2 separate regions of the Homo sapiens genome follow, and region 2 is linked to region 1. Evidence: promoter capture Hi-C in 16 types of primary human blood cells and fetal thymus (Javierre and others, 2016). All regions are on one chromosome and are shown on one strand. Each heading gives the region's core, a stretch centred on a gene start or on the middle of the fragment in contact. The rest is flanking DNA. Distances are from core to core; before and after follow the strand shown.

What was found. The method cuts DNA at HindIII sites, captures the fragments that hold promoters and counts their contacts. A CHiCAGO score of 5 or more calls a contact.
Region 2: a contact is called between a fragment that was not itself captured here and the fragment with the promoter of APBB3 in region 1, in 1 of 17 cell types (non-activated CD4 T cells). The highest score is 5.4, in non-activated CD4 T cells.

The regions. Positions count from the first base shown.
Region 1 is chr5:140,562,268-140,568,990 of GRCh38, forward strand. It overlaps APBB3 (amyloid beta precursor protein binding family B member 3), which reads right to left and starts at 2,331. Exons shown (of 13, transcript NM_133173.3): 1 at 1,930-2,331; 2 at 1,485-1,648; 3 at 1,327-1,403; 4 at 396-456; 5 at 86-232. The coding sequence starts at 1,978. It overlaps SLC35A4 (solute carrier family 35 member A4), which reads left to right and starts at 2,561. Exons shown (of 3, transcript NM_080670.4): 1 at 2,561-2,591; 2 at 3,606-3,704; 3 at 4,298-6,723. The coding sequence starts at 4,903. The coding sequence ends at 5,877. LOC131768270 (SLC35A4 upstream open reading frame protein) reads left to right here and starts at 2,561. Exons shown (of 3, transcript NM_001394034.2): 1 at 2,561-2,591; 2 at 3,606-3,704; 3 at 4,298-6,723. The coding sequence starts at 2,577. The coding sequence ends at 4,495. MIR6831 (microRNA 6831) reads right to left here and starts at 1,484; the gene lies at 1,404-1,484. RefSeq lists enhancers at 1,489-1,548, 2,157-2,763, 2,519-2,638 and a silencer at 2,019-2,198. The HindIII fragment of the contact is 4,216 bases long and covers 1-3,482 here.
Region 2 is chr5:138,029,440-138,036,093 of GRCh38, forward strand. It overlaps FAM13B (family with sequence similarity 13 member B), which reads right to left and starts at 3,640. Exons shown (of 24, transcript NM_001385994.1): 1 at 3,343-3,640. FAM13B-AS1 (FAM13B antisense RNA 1) reads left to right here and starts at 3,335. Exons shown (of 2, transcript NR_037900.2): 1 at 3,335-3,513. It overlaps LOC124901077 (a long non-coding RNA gene), which reads left to right and starts at 3,700. Exons shown (of 2, transcript XR_007058952.1): 1 at 3,700-3,812; 2 at 4,056-5,234. RefSeq lists enhancers at 953-1,454, 2,669-2,728, 2,829-3,712 and silencers at 3,219-3,288, 3,299-3,348. The HindIII fragment of the contact is 1,562 bases long and covers 3,764-5,325 here.

The DNA of each region.
Region 1 (6,723 bases), core at 1,081-3,580:
CATTGCCATGAGAAATAGGAAATTCAGGGACAGCTACCTCTGCTGGGCCCTGGGCCCAAACCATTAAAGGGCCCAGCCAACTCACCTCACCCCAGGCACCATCTGGAGGCTGGCTCCGGCTGCGGGTCTGGGCCAGCTGCTGGATACAGTTATTGACTGCAATACTGCTCTTCCCCGGTGCCAGGTCCTCTTCAGGTACCTCTACCCAGCCCAGAGAGCGGACTGCAAAGCACTGACAGGTTGGGGGAAGGGACAGGAATTAATAAGGATGGAGTAGGGTGGCAGGTGCCACAATACATACTCCCTGTCTTCACCCTTGATCACCTCTGTTCAGTCCAATCCCACCCTTGTCTTTCCCTTGGGACCTCCCAATGCCCTCAGGCCCAAGTCACTACCTTAGCCCCTGGCTCCATGCTCTGGATGTAGGATTCCCCACCATACCAGGACAGAGAGTTACTGAAACAGAGCAGAGCTGTTAAGAGGACCACATTTCCTACAGTAGGGACACTGGTGAGGCCTAGACAACTTGATAAGCACAGGATGAGGGGCAAGACCCAGAATATAGCACCAGAAATATAAAACCAGAGCAGGGTAGAGCCCAGGACATATTAACGTAACATAAAGTGTGACTCAGAATTTGAGGGAAAATTCAGGACATAGGACCCAGACACAGGACATAGAATAAAAGTCACAAGGCTAGGTGCAGTGGTGGCTCACGCCTGTAATCCCAACACTTTGGGAGGCTGAGACGGGTGGATCATGAGGTCAGGATATCGAGACCATCCTGGCCAACATGGTGAAACCCCATATCTACTAAAAATACAAACATTAGCTGGGCATGGTGGCATGTGCCTGTAGTTTCAGCTACTCAGGAGGCTGAGGCAGGAGAATGACTTGAACCTGGGAGGCGGAGGTTGCAGTGAGCCAAGATCGTGCCACTGCACTCCAGCCTGGATGACAGAGTGAGACTCCATCTCAAAAAATAAAAAATAAAAGTCACAAAATAGAACAGGGTCCAATATGTGGACCAGAACCCCAAAGTGGGACAAGAGACCCTAGAACAGAGGACTTAATGGCCAAGGTCTAGAACATGATAGGTTAGGACCAAGAATATGAAAAACATGTAGCTACAAACAAGAGCTTAGAACAAGGGATAAAACTCAAAATACTGACAGTTAAGAACCTGGGACAGAGCCAAGAACGTAACAGAACCCAAAACATGTGACAGAATCCAGAACCTGGGCTGGAAAGCAGACCATGGGTCCAGCTGCATTTTTGAACACCATGGAACCCCAAGCCTTTCATTTTGCCTGGGCCACCCGTTACCTCCGGTCCAGTGAACTCTCCAGGCTGGAGAAGGATCTCCCTTTGGGGGGCCGCAGTCCCCAGATCCCCTCCGTTCCCTGTAGAGTGGGAGTTAGTCAGTTTAACAGCAGACCTAGGTCCACACATGGGCTCAGACCTCCTCCTCACACTCTACCTACCGTGCCTGGGTCCTCTGCATCTCCTAGTTCCCAGGTTGGGCGCTGCCACTGGGTGCTACCGCTGGGTACATGCCAGTAGTAAGTACCTGCAGCATCGTGGATCTTCCTCCAGCCAGGAGGCAGGCCAGCCTCCACCTCCAGACTGTGGTCCCCCCACAAGTCATCTACAGGAACACCGGATTAGAGAGGAGGGAGCATATGATTTGTGAGTTCAGAATAACATGCTGTCATAATCCCCTCTCCATCCCCAAAATGGGTCAGTTCTTAGGCTGAAGATCCAGGCTCCTCAATCTTGAAGACATCACATGTAAAGACCGGGTTCATTCGCCCCCTGGTCCCTACACAGAGAGGTATCCCCCACCGTCTTTGAGCCCCAGAGTAGCCTTTCGGATTCCCTCGTCCTCCCTCAGCTCCTGGTCTTCCCACCGGGCCCCTCCGTGCACACCATCGCAGTTGACCAGAATGATGGCCAGCATGTAATCCTTGCCCAGCATAACCCCGGCTGCTCCCCGCCAGCCTCTGCCGGCCCGCACTCTCAGCCCAGCGCGACCTCTGGAGCTACTGCGCCTGCAAGCCCAGCCTCTCTGCGCCGCAGGCTGCGGGGCCAGCTGGCGCCGCACAAATACGGGGCGGGACACGGGGCGGGACACGGGCCGGTCCCGGGGGAGGGCCTGAGCCGCACAGCCCGCCCAGGGGTGGTGCGTGTAAACGGGCGTCTGGATCCCCGAATGGTTGCGTGTTTCCGTGTGTGGGTCCGGGGGAGGCCCACGAACGCCAGCGAAACCGCTGACACCACCGCCCAACTATGAACTCATCAGGCGCCTGAAGACCGACACGCCGAACATGCGCCGCGCGCACTCGCGCACGAGTGAGATCATCGCGCCCCGGTCGTGAGTGCGCTCACACGCAGCCTGAGACTCGACGGGAGGGGGTCACGTGGAAGTATCTGAGAGAGGCGTACTTGGCCACTAGGAAAGCACCTCCCCCTTTCCAAAAATGCTCCGGAAGTGCCTTCGCCCTCCGTAAAGATGGCCGGGGCAGTCGGCACGAGGGAGGCGGGGATGCGCCTGCGCAACAAGTTCGGCGGGGAAGATGGCGGATGACAAGGTGAGTGGCCGTGGGGGTGATCTGCAGCCGGGCGTGGTCTTCACTCTCCTTGACCTTTTTAGTTCCGGGGAGAAGCGACTCTGGAGCGGCTCAGGAGTGAGGATGTCCCTTGTTTCTTCTGCGGCTCCTGTCAACTGCCTCAACAGTGTGGAGTGGTGTGGGGAGAGCATTCGGCGAGGCGGGAGGAGCCGTGGATCCCCCAGATGTCCCCTCCTGGGAACCATCACGAACCCGTTACTAGCACAGACTCAAAAACATTCACCCTTAAACACTCCTCACTTTACCCCATTCCCTAGCTCCCGAAATTTTCTTCCCAGTGACACGATGTTTCCAATCACACGGACACTCACACCACCCTCATTCAAACACTCCTTTGCATACATTCTGAATTTCATACTTATATGCGATCAAAATCACTCAGTCCATTTACTTACACACTTGCCGACAGTCTTTTTTGTCATTCTCAGTCACATCCAGTCACTCACATTCAGTTTGGGATGTCCTTGGGAAGAAAGAGGTAAAGCCCATCCAGGAACCAAGACAATAAAATTGTCCAGGAAACTGCCTCGGTCCATTACTCACCATTGGTCTAGAAGCTCAGCATTACCCACACATTTACTAAATGTCAGGCACTAGAACATAGTAGCCAAGACAGACTGGTCACGACTTTCAAGGAGCTCATAATGGAGTCAGTAGTGGTTTCCTGATGGACCTAATTAAAGGTCCCTAGCTGTCCCTCCTGCCTTTCCTACATACTGCTTGCTATATAAAATTCTTGTCAAGGTTGATGTAAGTTACTGGTTCAGATCCCATCTGTCAGTCCCTTCCTGGCCCTCATTTGAATTCTGTGCTTTTCAATGCTTGTCTTTCTTTGCCACTGCCATCTCAGGAAGCTTTTATAGGAAAAGGTCTTTCTGGCTCACCCCATCCCCTCCCAATTCCCAGCTTCTGATGGAATTGAGCAAGGGGTGGGGCTTAGTCAGACTGCTGGAGCCAGCCTCTCGCTTGTCCTAGGATTCTCTGCCTAAGCTTAAGGACCTGGCATTTCTCAAGAACCAGCTGGAAAGCCTGCAGCGGCGTGTAGAAGACGAAGTCAACAGTGGAGTGGGCCAGGTAAGGACTGTCCCACCCCACCCCTGCCTTAGGCTTTATTGCCCAACATGCTCTTGAGAGTGTTAAATGGATGGTAGAGATTTCTTCAGCAAGTGATTATTGAGGGCCTATTCTCAGTCACCCTAAGGACAATTTTTCTGAATGGCACATGAACTAATATCTTAAGTAGTGGTTAAGTAGGTGAAGAGGGGAGGAAAGAACATTCCAGGCAGAACAGCATATGTAAAGGCCTTGTGGTAGGAAGTAGCATTATAAACATGAGGGGTGAAAGGAGGTCCATTTGGCTACAGTAGTTGGGGAGCATGCTAGGAAATGAGGCTGGAGAAACCGGCAGGGCTAGGGGCATCTCTGACCTTGTGTGGCGGTGGAGTTCTATGGTTGGAGCTTTCTGACCCCAGGGTTCTGAGATTGTGTGATCAGAACTGCTTGGTTCTTTTTCTGGCCCCAGAACCTTGGGAAAAATCTGGAGAAAATACCACGGTTGTCCAGGGTGAGGAGGAGCTGGTGGTGGAATGCTCTAATCCCAGCTTGAGTAGCCCCTGGACAGTCAGGAAGGAGCCTAGCTAAGTTTCCTTCTGCATTTTTCTCTGCAGGATGGCTCGCTGTTGTCCTCCCCGTTCCTCAAGGGATTCCTGGCTGGCTATGTGGTGGCCAAACTGAGGGCATCAGCAGTATTGGGCTTTGCTGTGGGCACCTGCACTGGCATCTATGCGGCTCAGGCATATGCTGTGCCCAACGTGGAGAAGACATTAAGGGACTATTTGCAGTTGCTACGCAAGGGGCCCGACTAGCTCTAGGTGCCATGGAAGAGGCAGGATGAGCAGCTCAGCCTTCAGGTGGAGACACTTTATCTGGATTCCCCAGCTGTCATCCATTTGCTATCTCCAACTTTCCTGCCACCTTCATCCTTGCCTCCCTTCCTGCAGATTGTGGACAGTAGTTCCTCAGCCTGCACCCTGGATTCCTTCTTCCCCTTCCTAGCTCCATGGGACTCGCCCCAAGACTGTGGCTTCAAGGACCACCAGCCCCTTACTCTTCAAGCCCTGACTGTGGAGTTGGTAGATGCCTCTGATCCTCAGTATTCTCTCTGGCAATGTTCCACGGCTTCTCCTTCCTGGGAGCTGGCTCCATAACTTGATTTTCCCCAAACGTGTTGCAATCCCTGCTGCCCCTTAGCCACCCAGGGTCTTGTGTGGGTATGAGTGTAGAGGATGGGGGTATGCCAGGCCTGGGCCGTCCCAGGCAGGCCCGCTGGACCCTGATGCTACTCCTATCCACTGCCATGTACGGTGCCCATGCCCCATTGCTGGCACTGTGCCATGTGGACGGCCGAGTGCCCTTCCGGCCCTCCTCAGCCGTGCTGCTGACTGAGCTGACCAAGCTACTGTTATGCGCCTTCTCCCTTCTGGTAGGCTGGCAAGCATGGCCCCAGGGGCCCCCACCCTGGCGCCAGGCTGCTCCCTTCGCACTATCAGCCCTGCTCTATGGCGCTAACAACAACCTGGTGATCTATCTTCAGCGTTACATGGACCCCAGCACCTACCAGGTGCTGAGTAATCTCAAGATTGGAAGCACAGCTGTGCTCTACTGCCTCTGCCTCCGGCACCGCCTCTCTGTGCGTCAGGGGTTAGCGCTGCTGCTGCTGATGGCTGCGGGAGCCTGCTATGCAGCAGGGGGCCTTCAAGTTCCCGGGAACACCCTTCCCAGTCCCCCTCCAGCAGCTGCTGCCAGCCCCATGCCCCTGCATATCACTCCGCTAGGCCTGCTGCTCCTCATTCTGTACTGCCTCATCTCAGGCTTGTCGTCAGTGTACACAGAGCTGCTCATGAAGCGACAGCGGCTGCCCCTGGCACTTCAGAACCTCTTCCTCTACACTTTTGGTGTGCTTCTGAATCTAGGTCTGCATGCTGGCGGCGGCTCTGGCCCAGGCCTCCTGGAAGGTTTCTCAGGATGGGCAGCACTCGTGGTGCTGAGCCAGGCACTAAATGGACTGCTCATGTCTGCTGTCATGAAGCATGGCAGCAGCATCACACGCCTCTTTGTGGTGTCCTGCTCGCTGGTGGTCAACGCCGTGCTCTCAGCAGTCCTGCTACGGCTGCAGCTCACAGCCGCCTTCTTCCTGGCCACATTGCTCATTGGCCTGGCCATGCGCCTGTACTATGGCAGCCGCTAGTCCCTGACAACTTCCACCCTGATTCCGGACCCTGTAGATTGGGCGCCACCACCAGATCCCCCTCCCAGGCCTTCCTCCCTCTCCCATCAGCAGCCCTGTAACAAGTGCCTTGTGAGAAAAGCTGGAGAAGTGAGGGCAGCCAGGTTATTCTCTGGAGGTTGGTGGATGAAGGGGTACCCCTAGGAGATGTGAAGTGTGGGTTTGGTTAAGGAAATGCTTACCATCCCCCACCCCCAACCAAGTTCTTCCAGACTAAAGAATTAAGGTAACATCAATACCTAGGCCTGAGAAATAACCCCATCCTTGTTGGGCAGCTCCCTGCTTTGTCCTGCATGAACAGAGTTGATGAAAGTGGGGTGTGGGCAACAAGTGGCTTTCCTTGCCTACTTTAGTCACCCAGCAGAGCCACTGGAGCTGGCTAGTCCAGCCCAGCCATGGTGCATGACTCTTCCATAAGGGATCCTCACCCTTCCACTTTCATGCAAGAAGGCCCAGTTGCCACAGATTATACAACCATTACCCAAACCACTCTGACAGTCTCCTCCAGTTCCAGCAATGCCTAGAGACATGCTCCCTGCCCTCTCCACAGTGCTGCTCCCCACACCTAGCCTTTGTTCTGGAAACCCCAGAGAGGGCTGGGCTTGACTCATCTCAGGGAATGTAGCCCCTGGGCCCTGGCTTAAGCCGACACTCCTGACCTCTCTGTTCACCCTGAGGGCTGTCTTGAAGCCCGCTACCCACTCTGAGGCTCCTAGGAGGTACCATGCTTCCCACTCTGGGGCCTGCCCCTGCCTAGCAGTCTCCCAGCTCCCAACAGCCTGGGGAAGCTCTGCACAGAGTGACCTG
Region 2 (6,654 bases), core at 3,295-5,794, 2.5 Mb before region 1:
TGGAAATACTACTAGAATATTTCCTCTCAATAGAAAAAGAGAATATTTTACAACAGTAATAGTTTCAAAGTGATTCTACAACCAATCATAATGCAGTCTGCTTTTGCTATTGAAAAAAACTCCCATCTTACCTAATTCTAAATTTCAGCTCCTTTACACCTTTCCAAACACTAAATCCAACGTGACCAGTGTTTGCTCCAAATTAGGACCATAGAGAACCTCCTCCACCTCCCTGCTCACCCCAATGCAAAATGATATTCAGCACCTACTATGTCAATCAACAAGCAGTTTTCAGTTTTATTTTTACTTTTACTTTTCAATTGTAAAGAGCAGCAGCTTGACACACAAAAGCAAAAAGTAGAGAAATATTTTCAAGAATAGGTAAACAAAACTGAACTTTTTCTATTCTGTTCCTGAAAAGGGCAATAATAGAAACTTGACAGACATCGCTCTTAAAATTAAAGCAAGAGATAAGAATCTTTATACATTATATATACAAGGAAAAGAAAATATACACTAGAAGCTAGGTAATAACTTGAAATAAAAGACTTGCAATATTTCCTTCTCTAGTAGAAATCTAGTAAATGTCATCAAATTATCTTGTCAGCTTACCACATTTTCCTCAGCCTAGGTCTTTTATACTTGCTAGTTCACTGACCTGGAACACTCTCCCACGCTTCCTCCTTCCTATCATCAGTTCAAGTCCCATCCTTGGAGAGGCTTTCTTCAACCCACTCAAACTAATGGTCTCATTTATTAATTTATCTAGGGTGTGGCGTTCCTTGGCTCCAAAATATTCATCACAGGTTTCTTGTTTTGTTTTTTGAGACAGGGTCTCACTCTGTCCCCCAGGCTGGAATGCAATGGCATCATCACAGCTCACTGCAGCCTCAAACTCCTGGGCTCAAGCAATCCTCCCACCTCAGCTCCCTGAGCAGCTGGGACAACAGGAGCATGCCACCATGCCTGGCTTTTTTTTTTTTTTTTTCTGTAAAGAGAGTCTCCCTATGTTGCCCAGGCTGGCCTCAAACTCCTAAGCTCAACTGATCCTCCAGCCTTAGCCTCCCAAAGTGCTGGGATTACAGGCGTGAGCCTGGCTTACCACAAGTTTTATTACATATTCATTTTGTGTTTGTTTAATGTCTGTTTCTACCAACAGAGTATAAGCTCTCCAAAGTCCACCAGTGGGTTTTTAAAAAAATACATTTATTAAGGTATAATTTACACACTAAAATTTGCACTTCAGCCTGGGCAACAAGAATGAAACTCCGTCCCCCCCCCCCAAAAAAAAAAATTGAACGTAAGGCTGGGCAAGGTGGCAAGGTGGCTCACACCTGTAATCCCAGCACTTTGGGAGGCAGAAGCAGGCAGATCATCTGAGGTCAGGAGTTTGAGACCAGCCTGGGCAACATGGCAAAACCCCGTCTTACAAAAAATACAAAAATTAGTCAGGCGCAGTGGCAAGCACCGGTAGTCCTAGCTACTCGGGAGGCTAAGTCAGAAGAATCGTTAGAACCTGGGAGGCAGAGGTTGCAGTCAGCCGAGATTGCACCACTGCACTCCAGCCTGGGCGACAGTGATGCCCTGTCTCAAAAAAAAAAACAAAACAGTAATTTACACTATTATAGTCCCCAAATTTAAAATTTGAATACGATGATGGAGGAGCTATGCAGCGATGGATTGAGGTTATTCATAACTGATTATAAAAGCAGTTATTTTATTGGTGGGGAAACACTGACAAGTCAACAGATTCATTTCAGCCATTTTCTCTCCTAAAACAATGACATTCTAATAAAAAAAACTAACATTTACACCACCCAATGAATTATGCCACTGCAATATGCCCTTCTACATTTTCCAAGAACTTAAGCTGTGTCACACACGTGTCTAAATTAGTAATAAAATTAAACTGGAGAAACTATTACTCCAATTTTAAAAGCAGCACGGATTAAAAAAGTAAGAAGGGGGCAAGGCACGGTGACTCACGCCTGTAATCCCAGAACTCTGGGAGGCTGAGGCAGGCGGATCACTTGAGGTCAGTTCAAGACCAGCCTGGCCAACTTAGTGAAATCTGATCTCTACCAAAAATACAAAAATTAGTCAGGCGTGGTGGCGGGCGCCTGTAGTCCCAGCTACTCAGGAGGCTGAGGCAGGAGAATCGCTTGAATCCGGGAGGAGGAGGTTGCAGTGAACCGAGATCGCTCCACTGCACTCCAGCCTGTACGACAGAGCGAAACTGTCTCAAGGAAAAAAAAAAAAAAGTAAGAAGGCGCTCCCAATGGATATACAAATAATTATCAGTCCATTCAATTCCATCAACAAGCACTTAGTAAATGCACAGTACCTGTGAGAAAACCAGGCCAACAAGCATTTCAAGGTTACCAAAAAAGGAAGGTTGAAAATAGCCTCACACTAACCCAGCTCTAAAAAGACAAATAATTCAAAACCACCCTTTAATGTCTGTCTCTCTAAACAGGTGCACCCCAGTTAATGTTAATAGTCTGCATTACTACTGGTAATGATTCTGGCTACCATTTTAGATTATCAGATCCTTCAAAGTAAATGCCCAACTTTTTTCACTGATTAGAAGGCGAAACGGGGAACCAAATGAAATAATCCACCGTCTTTCTAAAAGTCAGTTTGATTTTAACTGATTACAAACAAAAAGGGCTTAACAGTTTCCCACTGCGCAAATGTGCCAACCGATTCCTACAACCTCATCTAGGAAACCAGGCGTGCCACGCGAACCCTAATGCTATACAAAGTGTCCCCCTCCAGCCTGGCCTATGCAGAGCGCATTCTAGACAAGGCCCCAGTGCACCAACAGCCCAATTTTGGCTATATTCTCTGAGCGATTTAAGGAAGTCCGCAACCACTCATCTCACGTGACCTTAAAAAGGGGCGCAGTTGAGCCCAGAATAAAACACACTCCTTTTTCTTCTACATCAACTTCACTGCCCAGCATGAAGGAAGTGGGCGGGGAAGAGGCGCAGCGCCAGCGGGCAGGAGAGGTCAGCAAAGAAACGTGGGGTGTCGCGCCATCTACTCTGGAGGGGCTGGAGGTGAGGGGCACGCCCGCTCAACTGCACTGCAGCCGCTGCAAATCCAAGGCTGCCACACCCCCCGGCAGCCAGGGACACGGCTTCATCTTCCTCTTTCTCCAGCGGAAAGGGGGCCCTCTCCACGGAACGCCCCACCTGCTAGAGTCCTCCACATCCCGAAACGCAACGCCCGAGAGCAGGCGCGGGTGGCAGGCGGCGCTGGGGGGCAACAGGAGGGGAAGGGCCGCGGCGACCTGCAACCCGCGCATGCGCAGATCCGGGTACCCGCCCGTTTACCTACCGTTGGAACCGCGATGCCCCGTTCCCTGGCCGCGGCCGCTTCTCCAGGACCCGCGGCGACGGCAAGAGGGCGAGAACTGAGGCCCCAAGTGGCTCCGCGGCCGAGAAGCCTCTTCCTGGGGCGGCCGCTGACGGGAGGTTAAAGCTACGGCTGTGGCGCGGGGCCAGCCCGGTAAGCGACCCCCCGGATACCCCCGGCGGTGGTGGCGACGCAGACGCGGAACAGGGGGAGAGAGTGGCGACAGAGGCGGCGGCTGAGGTGCAGAGCCTCCCTAACGGCGAGCGGGAGGAGAGCGGCTGGCGGGCGGAGGCCGGGCCGGACGTGACGTGCGTGGGAGGGGGCGGGGCAGGCCGCTGGTGGGGGCGGGGCGGCGAGGGTCCCCACCCCCACAGCATTCCGGGCAGCGGCCCTGTGTCCTGCAAGCTTGAGGACCGCGGTTCCTCTCCCACCAATTGGGGTCCTGAATTAGGGTGCGAGCAGCCAGGCGCCATCCCGGGGCGGGTTGTGGGGTCCTCGGTATGGGGAGGTTGGGAAACAGAGAGGACACTGGGGAGAGGAAAGATAAAGGGAAAATCCGGAACACAGAGATCGCTTCTGGTCTCTGCGGAGGAAGCCAGGCCCCCAGGGCGCCCATATCCAGGTGAGGAGCACAGAGACCTGAACCGAAAACCGCTGGGGGAGACCTAAGCGGTGACTTCGGTTCCCATTCCCAGAGATGTGAGTTAGATCCGGGACCACGGGGCTGCACCTGCGTCCTGCCCGCCCCCACCCTACCCCTTCACCTCAGGACCTGACCTAGACTCCAGAGAGAACAGTAAGGCTTCGGTGCCTTAGTCTGGGACTGTGGAAGTCGATAGGCTGCGGGCTTACAGGGAGCTTCGTATACTAAAATCAGCCAGCTGCGGAGGCAGAGCTGAAAGGAGGCAGAAAGAATGAGCTCTCTGAACTTGCATGGCTACCCAGACCATCCCTACAACTCCCTTGAACTCACAAGGGTATGAATATTCAGCCAATCTCTTCTTTGTTATAGTCTGTTAAGGGCTTTGAGATCTTCCATTTGGACTCCTTGACAGCCGGTAGATCAACACCTGCACAAAAAATAGCAGCCACCACAATTCAGTTGTCCCTTACCTACCTGAGCTGGAAGTTAGTAACTTGGAAAATGTAAAACAAGAACCCTCATAGAACTTGGGACAAGATTTGAAAAAAATAAAGTTACCCTATGAAATGATCTGTAAATGGGCTACAGAGGCCACAGTGTCTCCCACATTTCATCAGAGAGAGTAAACCATGTGTAACCTAAGTGTCACATACCCAGTTAATGCTGTCATAACCGAAGGGTGGGGTCCACAAAGAGTCTAAAACCAGAAGAATCTGAATAAGAATGTTCTATGAGGCTCCCAGGAACTCTGTCCAGGAACGAGGCAACTGATTCTAATGACCAGAACCAACACTTACTCTCAGGGCAGTTAAATCTTAATTCAGATTCACTCACTCATTCAACAGATACTTAGTGAATGCTTACTATGTTCTAGTCTCTTAAGATACGTCAGTAAATCCCTGCCTTCGTGGAGTTTATATCCTAGCAAACCTAAATTCTGGATCTCCGTTAAGAGCATACAAAGGCCCATACTCTGATTCCAAACTCAGCTAGTAGCCTTTCCATCATTCAGGGAGTCTCTCAAATAAATCTACATACCCAATAAGAAGGGATTGTCCAAGGCATATAACTAGGACTAGTTATACTAGCTGTACAGTTTTTGTCAATAAATTCATATCATGGTTTACAAATCGGACACTGTTCACTGGGTTGAATTGTTTTATCCGAATTAATTTCTCAGAGCCTATTTAAACTTGAGCGAAGTGAAATAAAAGTTTCCAAATCTGCCAAACAGGATCAACAGAGCCTGATTTCAGAGCAGCCCAGTGAAGATGCAGTCTGTGCATTTAGCCTTGTATCTCTCTTTAAATATCTTAAATGAAAGCTTTACCTGTGATTCCATGCTTGGAGAACAGGAGCAATATGATTGCTTCAAAAGCTTTATCATAAGTGCGTAAAAGTCTTGAGAGTAAATCCGAAGAGAGTTAAAAACCTCCTCCGCCTGCCCCACATATGCAACACAGGCTCTTGTTGACATAACTGACTGTAATAAATACTTTGCTCTGAATATGAAACCTAAGATGTAAGCTCCCAGAGGGAAGGATTCCCTTGCCTTTTTTTTTTTTTTTTTTTTTTTTTTTTTTTTGGTGAGACAAGGTCTTGCTCTGTCACTCAGGCTGGGGTCCAGTGTCTGGATTATGGCTCAATACAGCCTCAACTTCCTGGCCTCCAGCAGCATTCCTACCCTAGTCTCCTGAGTAGCTGGGACTACAGGGACATGCCACCATGCCTGGCTAATTTTAAAATTTTTTTAGAGATGGGTTTCCCTATGTTGCCCAGGCCTCTCTTGAACTCCTGGCCTCAAGTGATCCTCCCACCTCAGCCTCCCAAAGTGCTGTGATTACAGGCGTGAGCCACCGTGCCCGGCCTCCCTTGCGTTTTTATACCCTACCCACAAAGTATGGGATCTCAAAAAACAAATGAATTGATCAATGACCATTTTCCCCCTCAAAAACTGCAGAACATATTCTTGGAAGATATATTCTCTAGATCCTACTTGATAATATAAAAACAGTATGTTCAACATAGGGGCCACATGGGCTATAATTCAAAACAAACACTTTTATTTTGTATCTTTTGCCATGCCTTTCAATTTGTGCAGTGGGAGTAGATCTGTCATGTACCTAATTGAAAACTCAGGCAGGTTCCATGAGTTTTTAGGGGTTCTGTGGTCTCCTTAGGAATAGAGTCCTGTTGTCATTGAGTCACAAAGAGTGAAATGTTTTCCTCTTTTTCAGCTGGGAACAGTTGTCTCATTGCTTGCCCTAAAGAGGGGACCATAGTCATCTTTAACCTGCCTAGTCTTTCTCCTCCCGGCTTAACTAATCATAACCAAATCTGGGGAAGGCAGGGAGAAAAAGGAGCAGGAAAGTTGTTAACTTTGTATGATGGTTTGACATTCCCTGGGCATGGTAGATGCTTAAAGCTGACTTATTTTTTCATGGATACCTCAGAGACTACCACCATCCCCCTTCTCTGGTGGTTTCTCCCCCATAATTCTATTGGTCTAAGCGTAAAGCTATTTTGGCAGTTATTTACTTCTTTCCACGCACCTCCAACTACTTGTCTGTTGAAACCTGGGCATCTCTGTAAAGGCCCTGTCAGATAGGATCTGAGATGACTCTCACACTCGTCCATTTGCAAGTGACCCT